Linked DNA regions of Homo sapiens: region 1 is linked to region 2. Evidence: promoter capture Hi-C in human tissues and cell types (Jung and others, 2019). All regions are on one chromosome and are shown on one strand. The core of a region is centred on a gene start or on the middle of the fragment in contact, and the rest is flanking DNA. Distances in the headings are between cores, read along the strand shown.

Region 1 (4,092 bases), core at 969-3,468, 1.0 Mb after region 2:
ATAGCGAGACCCCATTTCTACCAAAAAATACATATCCATATCTATAGATGTATAGATATTAAAAATTAGTAAATTCCTTGCTTCCCACAGTTCCTGTACTAAGCCAGTCAGAATAAGGGCTGCATGTCACTCCTACATTTCACAGCCTTAGGAATAATCTATATATTTGACTGGCTCAGTGCTGTGTTAAATAAACACAGATTAATTGACTAGGCTGAGGATGAAATAATAATCTGAGGTAGCTGTGAAATTACATAGTTATTTACTTATGTAGTTATTTATTGATCATTATTCCTTCATACTTATTTACTTTTTTCCCCTAGAGAGCTCAATCTGCTCTGTGTGTGTCTTTGAGCCTTTTTTGTATAAAAAGAACCTCAGTTTTTCCAAATGGAGAAAAAAATACATATTTATTTAAGAAGCATCAATAAAAATTACAAGTTGCATGAGAGTTGATATTAGTGGTAGTGTGCCTTACTGTGTCGGTGTTCTTTATATAATAATGCCTTGTGTTATATTTGAATACATGTTTATACAAGACAGTTAACTTTTCTGCTAAGTCAGTAAATGGCATTGATACTTATTACCACAAAGCATGTAAATTTATATCTTATAAGAGTAAATCAATTGACTGATTCATTTTCTCTCAACTGTTTTTATTTTCCAGTGCTTTCTCTAAAATGGATAACATTTGGGGAATTTCATGACATAATTGTAATAAAGCCTCTGTACAATTAAATGGCTTTAACTGAAGCCAAGCATGTTTCTCTTTCCCCTACTTCCCACCTTTTTAAAATTAAAAGCTTCCCAGTCTTTTTAGGTTGTATTTGTCATTTAAAGCATTTTGTATTGCAGCTGGATTCTGAAACTAGGTTAAATTGTCTGTTTCTCCTGGAAACATTCCAACAGAGATCAGTTTCTTTTCTGGACCTTCTAGTTCAATACTTTGCTCTTATATACTGTGTTGAATAGAACTGAACTGCTATTTATTGGATTTGTCAGCCTTAAATTCCAGTTACTATTTTTGCCTCAATGGTGTAGCTATTTAAAAGAATTAAACAGCTTAAGAACTGTATTTTTAGTCTATTTGGGTAGTAATATACTCCTTCCTGTTCATTGTTCTTTCAGACATTTGTCAGAAAATTTCACAAGCATGTAGTTGGTTTGTCCAAGCATAAACTATAACTTCAATATAAAGAAAGCTTAATAATACATACCAGATATACAATTCATTTTATACACACATACAGAAACAGGTAATTTTCCTTGGACTTTTTGTAATTTTGGAAGCCTGTGTAAATTAGTCTACCAGATTATATTATTCGGCCTGTAAACATGGGAGTTCAATAAAATTAATCATCAGAAACACAGTTTAAGTAGCTTGTAACCTCACTGGGGAGAAGCTTGAAATTATTCCGTGCTTTTGGGTTAACTTAACAAAAATTGCTGCCTTTTTTCAACATATAGCCTTTGAATAAGGGAGATAAATTACTAGGTTTGGTTTTGTTTTAGGTGATTTTGATAATACCACGAGTGGTACCTCTGTTTTCATCTTTTGTGTTAGAAAATTTAAAAATAATTAAGCTATAGAATTAATTTTATAGTGATATTATAATCCCAGAAGAATCACAAAACATCCTGTTCTGAGAAGACTTAGTCTGATTATGCTGCTTATTTATTTTATTTTTTGTTTATGGGGTTTTTTGTTTTGTTTTGTTTTGAGATGGAATCTCACTCTTCACCCAGGCTGGAAAGCAGTGGTGCAATCTTGACTCACTGCAATCTCCGTCTCCCAGATTCAAGCGATTCTCCTGCCTCAGCCTCCCAAGTAGCTGGGATTACAGGTGTGTGGCGCCACACCCAGCTAATTTTTGTGTATTTAGCAGAGATGGGGTTTCGCCATGTTGGCCAGGATGGTCTCAAACTCCTGACCTCAAATGATCTGCTGGCCTCGGCCTCCCAAAGTGGTGGGATTACAGGCCTGAACCACCACACCTGGCCTATTTTTTGTTTTTGGGGGCGTTTTTTGCTTTGTATTATTAGAGCAAATGTGGAAGCTTTCCTTAGTAGTTGGCTGATCTGTACTTTTGTTTTTAGATAAATGTTCTTCACTTTGTTTTCAGAAACTACTATTTCTAAAATTAGGAAATACAGATATTTATATTACATAAAGTTAAATACTACCTCAGAAAAAGTGCCTGTTCTTTTTGAAGTGAGTGTCTTCAAGAGTGCAGGGAAGACGATATCTTAAGGAAGATAGAAAGTGACATGCATTAAGTTGCATCTTGGGATCTTTCTTGGCCTTCCCTGTCTTTTCCCATTCTCATAAATGTCTTCCTTAAAAGCCTCAATGTGTGGTAGTCGAGCAGCAGCATGAGTTAGAAATTTATTTTCAATAGATGATGTGCTTTTGAGTTAATTATCCAAACTGACCAAGTTATGCCCAGAAATGTGTCTGTAAGGGACACAAATGTGCCAGTTGCACCAAATTATAGCATACTGGAGTTGAAATGGATCTCAGAAATACTTAAGTGCTAACCAGCCTAACATCCTAAATGTATTTATAAAAATATACAAGTTATTTTTAATATTCTTAAAAAGCCTATTTGTTGAATCAGTAGTGCCTATTGTGTGATCGATTGTCTTAGCTTATTTTATAAGGATTTTTGGGAAGAAGCTGAAGCCTTTTGCTATGTGGAGCTCTTGCTTGAGTGAACCTGGTCTCCATGGAACTTGCTTCTGTATTGGCTTTTATAGTCCTGCTCCTTTATAGTTCTTCTCCAGCTTCCATTTTTCCTTTTGTCTCCTCTGAGGATTTTTCTTCCACTCTCCTTTTCCAAAATATTGTTGTTTTCAAGGTTTTATCCACCTTGTAATTATCTTTCTGTATTCCTTTCCTTAATGAGCTCATTTATCAAGTAGCTACAACTATTAATCCCCTATTCCATTTCGTAATCTCCCTGGAGCCCCCAGCCCCAGTCCTCAGCCCTCCATAGGTATTGAGCAAATGCTGGTTGGTAGGTGAGTGGTGGGAGAGTGAGTAAGTGAATGATGCCCCCTCGACTGTGCTCCAACCTTTTCTGACAAACGATCTGCACAATGTCTTTACTTTGATGTTTTACCTCAGAAGGTGCCTACCTCAGTGAGCCTTATCTGAGAGTTTCATACCTACTTAAACTTTTTTTTTTTTTTTTTTTGAGACGGAGCCTTGCTCTGGTAACCAGGCTGCGGTGCGGTGGTGCAATCTCAGCTGACTGCAACCTCCGCCTTTTGGGTTCAAGTGATTCTCTTGCCTCAGCCTCCCGAGTAGCTTGGATTACAGGCATGCACCACCATGCCCAGCTAATTTTTGTATTTTTGGTAGGGACGGGGTTTCACTATGTTGGCCAGGCTGGTCTCGAACTCCTGACCTCAGGTGATCCGCCCACCTCAGCCTCCCAAAGTGCTGGGATTACAGGCGTGAGCCACCGCACCCAGCCCCTACTTAAACTTTTACAACTCAATTTCTTTTAATAGTTCTACCTTATTTTCTAATCTTCCAGATTCCCCCCTCCTTCCCCCCCTCAAAAAAATGTAGTCATCTTTGACTTTTCTCTCTCTCTCTTCTGTTGTGAATTTGGCTTTTAAACACAATTTTTTTTCTTTCAAAATTTCTCAGATTTAGCCCTTCTTTTCCATTTTTCTGTAACTGTCAATGGTTCAGGGTCTCATCACCTCATGCCCAGGTTATTAGCATGTCTGCTGCTAACATTTCCTCCACCCGGCAATCATTTAGACATAACAGACCAATTTTCATAAAATGTTATGTTGCTTTTTCAAAGGCTAAAGAGAAAACATTGAGAATCTTTGAGATGAGTATTTCAGTAAATCTGATTGCAGTAGGTAGAAAAGAAATGGGAAGATAAGAGAATCAATGTGAATAGAATGCATATTTGAAAAGTTTGGCAGATAGATTAGACCATTAACAGAAGATTTGAATTAGGTACTAGTTTCACTTTACAGAATGAAACACCTTACAAAGTATTTGTTTTTAAAATAAAGTTGAATATATTAGAGGGATGCATTTTTTGAAAAAAAGCCCATGAACAGTTA
Region 2 (4,578 bases), core at 921-3,420:
TAGTTAATCACCACACAGTTAATGAAACAAGACAAATTTTAAATGATGCATAGGCCAGGCACAGTGGCTCACACCTGTAATCTCAGCACTTTGGGAAGCCAAGGTTGGCAGATGAGTTGAGGTCAGGAGTTCGAGACCAGCCTGAGCAACAAGGTAAAATCCCGTCTCTACTAAAAATACAAAAATTATCTGGGCATGGTGGTGGGTGCCTATAATCCCAGCTACTAGGTAGGCTGAGGCAGGAGAACTGCTTGCTTGAACCCAGGAACCAGAGGTTGCAGTGGGCCGAGATTTTGCCGTCACACTCTAGGCTGGGCAGCAGAGCAAGACTCCATCTCAAAAAAAATTTTTTTAATTAAAAAAAATTAAAAGTGATGTATATATCACTATTACATAAATGATGCAACAGCATTATTCACAATAGCCAAAAGGTAAAAGCAATCTAAGTGTCTATGGATGGAAGACTGGATAAACAAAATGTGGTATTTATGCACAATAGAATATCATTCAACCTTCAAAAGGAAGGACATTCTGACACATGCTACAATATGGATGAACCTGGAGGACATTAAGCTCAGTGAAATAAGCCAGTCACGAAAGGACAAATACGGTCCGATTCCAGTTCTATGAGGTACCTAAAGTAGTTAAATTTATAGAGAGAAAAAAGTAGAATGGTGATCACCAGGGCCTGTGAGGGAGGGAGGAAAGGAGAGTTAGTGTTTAGTGGGTACAGTGTCAGTTTGGGAAGAGGAAAAAATCCCAGGAGTGGATGGTGGTGAGGGTATCACAACAATGTGAATGTATGTCATACCAATGAGCTGTACACTTAAAGATGGTTACAACGGTCAACTGTATGTTACATATATGTTACCACAGGTTTTTTTTTTAATTTAAAAATATTCTTTTAAAAAAAGCAGTCACTGTCATTCCTAGTGTTGTCCACTCTGGAATATTCAAAATTATTTCAAACCAATGCTAAATTAACTTGAATTTTAAAAATAGTTTTAATTTTAAACAATTATAAAGGCAATACGTTTTCATTGTAAAAATCTAGAAAATACAAAAAAGTGTTATTAAAGGATAATTTTTAGAAAAAATGTAAACATCGTGACTTTCACACAAATATAAAATGAATATGTGTGAAAGAGGTTATTTAACTCATTATTGAATAAGGAAACCAGTATGATGTTAAAACCAAAGAAGCTGGCCACTTGCCTGCAGTCCTAGCTACTCCAGAGGCTGAGGCGGGAGACTCACCTGAGCCCAGGAGTTTGCAACCAGCCTGGGCAACACAGCGAAACTCCCCAACCCTGTTTAAAATAAATAAATAAATAAATAAATAAATAAATAAATAAAAGAAAAAGGAAAAAAAAAAAGCAAAGAACAAAAGGACACACATATACAGACAAACAGGAATGCTAAAATGAATTTACAAATCAATGCCATACTGGTCAGTATCCATTGGACAATAATCATTCCACTGGGACGAACTCATTAGCCTTGATGTTGGCAAAAGTCATTTGCAATACTACAGGCTTTCTATAATTTATAGAGTTGTAAAATAACCTACAGACGAGAAAGGCCACAGTACACTGTAAAATTAAATAAACCTGCAAAAAACGCTAAGCAGGACATCCGGGAACACTGGTCCCTCTTTCTAGTCCCCTTGAAAGTCTCACAAGGCTGAAAAAGGAAAGTAAAATCCTTGTGTAACCCTTCTGCCCAGAAGTACACTGGCACAGATTCTTTAGAGACGAATTTAATCCAGAGTGTGGAGCCTTTATTAAGGAAATAATCCGGTGCAACGTTCTGGGACACGCTCCTGGACTGGGTGGGCTTCTGCACACTCACCCAGCGCACCTCCAATCCCCGGGAGCGCTCGGCACCGCCCACTTCTCTGCGAGTGGCTGCAAGTTGCAGAGCAAACCAGGGGGCGATCTGGAACCCTCTGGGAGTAAAGGGCTAAGCTATAAGCGCAGGGTCGACGGGCAGGGACCGGAAACAAATTCTAGGAACCGAGATCCGCTGAGCAGCAGGGAAGCTGCGCAGCCACCGCGTCCCGCCAGCGCCGCCTCTTTCCCTCCCCGCCCACCGCCCGCCTGGCCCGGCGGGGCGGCGCGAGGACCCAGGGGCGGGGCGACCTTTGCTCCGGCCGTGAGCAGTCCAGGCCAGGCGTGGCCCAGCCGCCCGGCTGCAAGGTGGGGTGTCCCCGCCGCTCGGATCCCCATCTCACCTGCCGCGGGCGAGGTGGCCCCGCCGCTTCCTGCGCTCACCTCGGGTCCCTCCCTCCCGGGCCAGGTTTGGCCGCGGCAGCCGCCCCTGGGCGCCCGCGCCCGGACCCGCGGTTTCGGTCAGACCCGCCCGCGGGCTGGTTTCGATTAGGGCCAGTAGGAGGGCGGAGCGGCCGGGACGCCAGGAGGGAACTAGCCTAAGTGGGGACGGTCCCCGTGCAGGAGACAAAGAGCGTCCCTGGAGCGATCAGGGCTCAGGAGCCCGACCCGGAGCCCGGGGCGTCCGCGCTGACTTCGGGTCCCCGGAGCCTGGGGCACGGCAGGGAGAAGACGACGGCGGAGAAGGCGACAGCGGAGAAGGAAGGCAGGCTGCAGGGGCGCCGTCGGCGCGGCGGGCCGGGATGCGGACGCCGGTGGTGATGACGCTGGGCATGGTGTTGGCGCCCTGCGGGCTCCTGCTCAACCTGACCGGCACCCTGGCGCCCGGCTGGCGGCTGGTGAAGGGCTTCCTGAACCAGCCAGTGGACGTGGAGTTGTACCAGGGCCTGTGGGACATGTGTCGCGAGCAGAGCAGCCGCGAGCGCGAGTGCGGCCAGACGGACCAGTGGGGCTACTTCGAGGCCCAGCCCGTGCTGGTGGCGCGGGCACTCATGGTCACCTCGCTGGCCGCCACGGTCCTGGGGCTTCTGCTGGCGTCGCTGGGCGTGCGCTGCTGGCAGGACGAGCCCAACTTCGTGCTGGCAGGGCTCTCGGGCGTCGTGCTCTTCGTCGCTGGCCTCCTCGGCCTCATCCCGGTGTCCTGGTACAACCACTTCTTGGGGGACCGCGACGTGCTGCCCGCCCCGGCCAGCCCGGTCACGGTGCAGGTCAGCTACAGCCTGGTCCTGGGCTACCTGGGCAGCTGCCTCCTGCTGCTGGGCGGCTTCTCGCTGGCGCTCAGCTTCGCGCCCTGGTGCGACGAGCGTTGTCGCCGCCGCCGCAAGGGACCCTCCGCCGGGCCTCGCCGCAGCAGCGTCAGCACCATCCAAGTGGAGTGGCCCGAGCCCGACCTGGCGCCCGCCATCAAGTACTACAGCGACGGCCAGCACCGACCGCCGCCTGCCCAGCACCGCAAGCCCAAGCCCAAGCCCAAGGTCGGCTTCCCCATGCCGCGGCCGCGGCCCAAGGCCTACACCAACTCGGTGGACGTCCTCGACGGGGAGGGGTGGGAGTCCCAGGACGCTCCCTCGTGCAGCACCCACCCCTGCGACAGCTCGCTGCCCTGCGACTCCGACCTCTAGACGCTTGTAGAGCCTGGGGGGCGCCGGGTGGCAAAGGACTCACCCCCGCACAGGCCCGCCTGGCTTCGAGTTGGAACCCGGACACTTGCCCCTCACTGGTGTGGATGGAAATCTGCCTTTCGTGGGACCAAACAGGACTCCTTGGACGATTAGTTCAGGTTGGGTTTGGTTTTCTTCTTAAAGAGTTTAGTTTTCCTCTCCAGAGGGATCAGGGTCCTCTTAGGGAGTGACGGGCTTTTCATATATTTTTGCTGAAGAATATATGGAAAGGGTGGCATTTGCGTCACGTGGACCAGGGACAGTGCTGAAATCAGCAGTGCTCAGAAACAATTTAACATGTTGAAACGACAATATTCTAAAATACTGATGAATCTTGCATCAATATAATTATTGGGTTTTTTTTCTTTTTCCTGCTGTATAACTCCTTGCCATGCAAACTCTCAAGAGGCCAATATATTCCTGGCCATGTTTGAATGAGCCTCTTAAAATAAACTTAGAGCCATGCAAATGCCAGCAGCTTAATGGATTTCATGGAATGAAATACCGTGATTAACTCATAGCTACATATCATTGCATAAATGGGATTTATCTTTTTTCTCACTTATTTTTGCGGTGAAAGTCGAGGGCATGCAAGAGTTTCTCTTCCAGAAGCCAAGAGGAGAACAAAGGTCCTAATGCTGTACTATTCCACCCTTTGGACGCCTCATCCAGGACGCAGAGGACTCTAGGTTTAACATTTTGTACAAAATGGAACCTGTTAATCATATTAAAGCACATATGTATATATCTTTTATTTATAAATAAAATTTTAAAACAATAGTTTCAGTATAGCCACAAAAGCTCTTTTGTCTTCAGTACAACGTTTGGGAGTTTAAACATTCATTACTAACAATTTCCTGGCTGCCTCGGCACTTGTGTCTGAAATCTAGCACTCAAATCTTTGCACCTCTTAGCATAAGGTTACTAAAAAAAGCCAACGGGCCCCACTTAAGTCCCTGATTGCTTTGGTTTTAGGTTCATGCCATTTCTGTGCAAAGCCAAGTCTATTGCTGAGAAAACGAGAAGCA

What was found. The method cuts DNA at HindIII sites, captures the fragments that hold promoters and counts their contacts. A contact is called where the count stands out against the background at its distance.
Region 1: a contact is called between a fragment that was not itself captured here and the fragment with the promoter of CLDN23 in region 2, in 1 of the 25 tissues and cell types used here (lymphoblastoid cells).

Annotation. Positions count from the first base shown.
Region 1 is chr8:9,743,704-9,747,795 of GRCh38, forward strand. The region is part of intron 17 of TNKS (tankyrase); the gene reads left to right. Among named protein-coding and RNA genes, the nearest start is that of MIR597, 4.1 kb to the left of the region's middle. The HindIII fragment of the contact is 6,105 bases long and covers 1-4,092 here.
Region 2 is chr8:8,699,767-8,704,344 of GRCh38, forward strand. It overlaps CLDN23 (claudin 23), which reads left to right and starts at 2,171. Exons shown (of 1, transcript NM_194284.3): 1 at 2,171-4,330. The coding sequence starts at 2,633. The coding sequence ends at 3,511. RefSeq lists a silencer at 1,904-2,523 and an enhancer at 1,997-2,964. The HindIII fragment of the contact is 23,279 bases long and covers 1-4,578 here.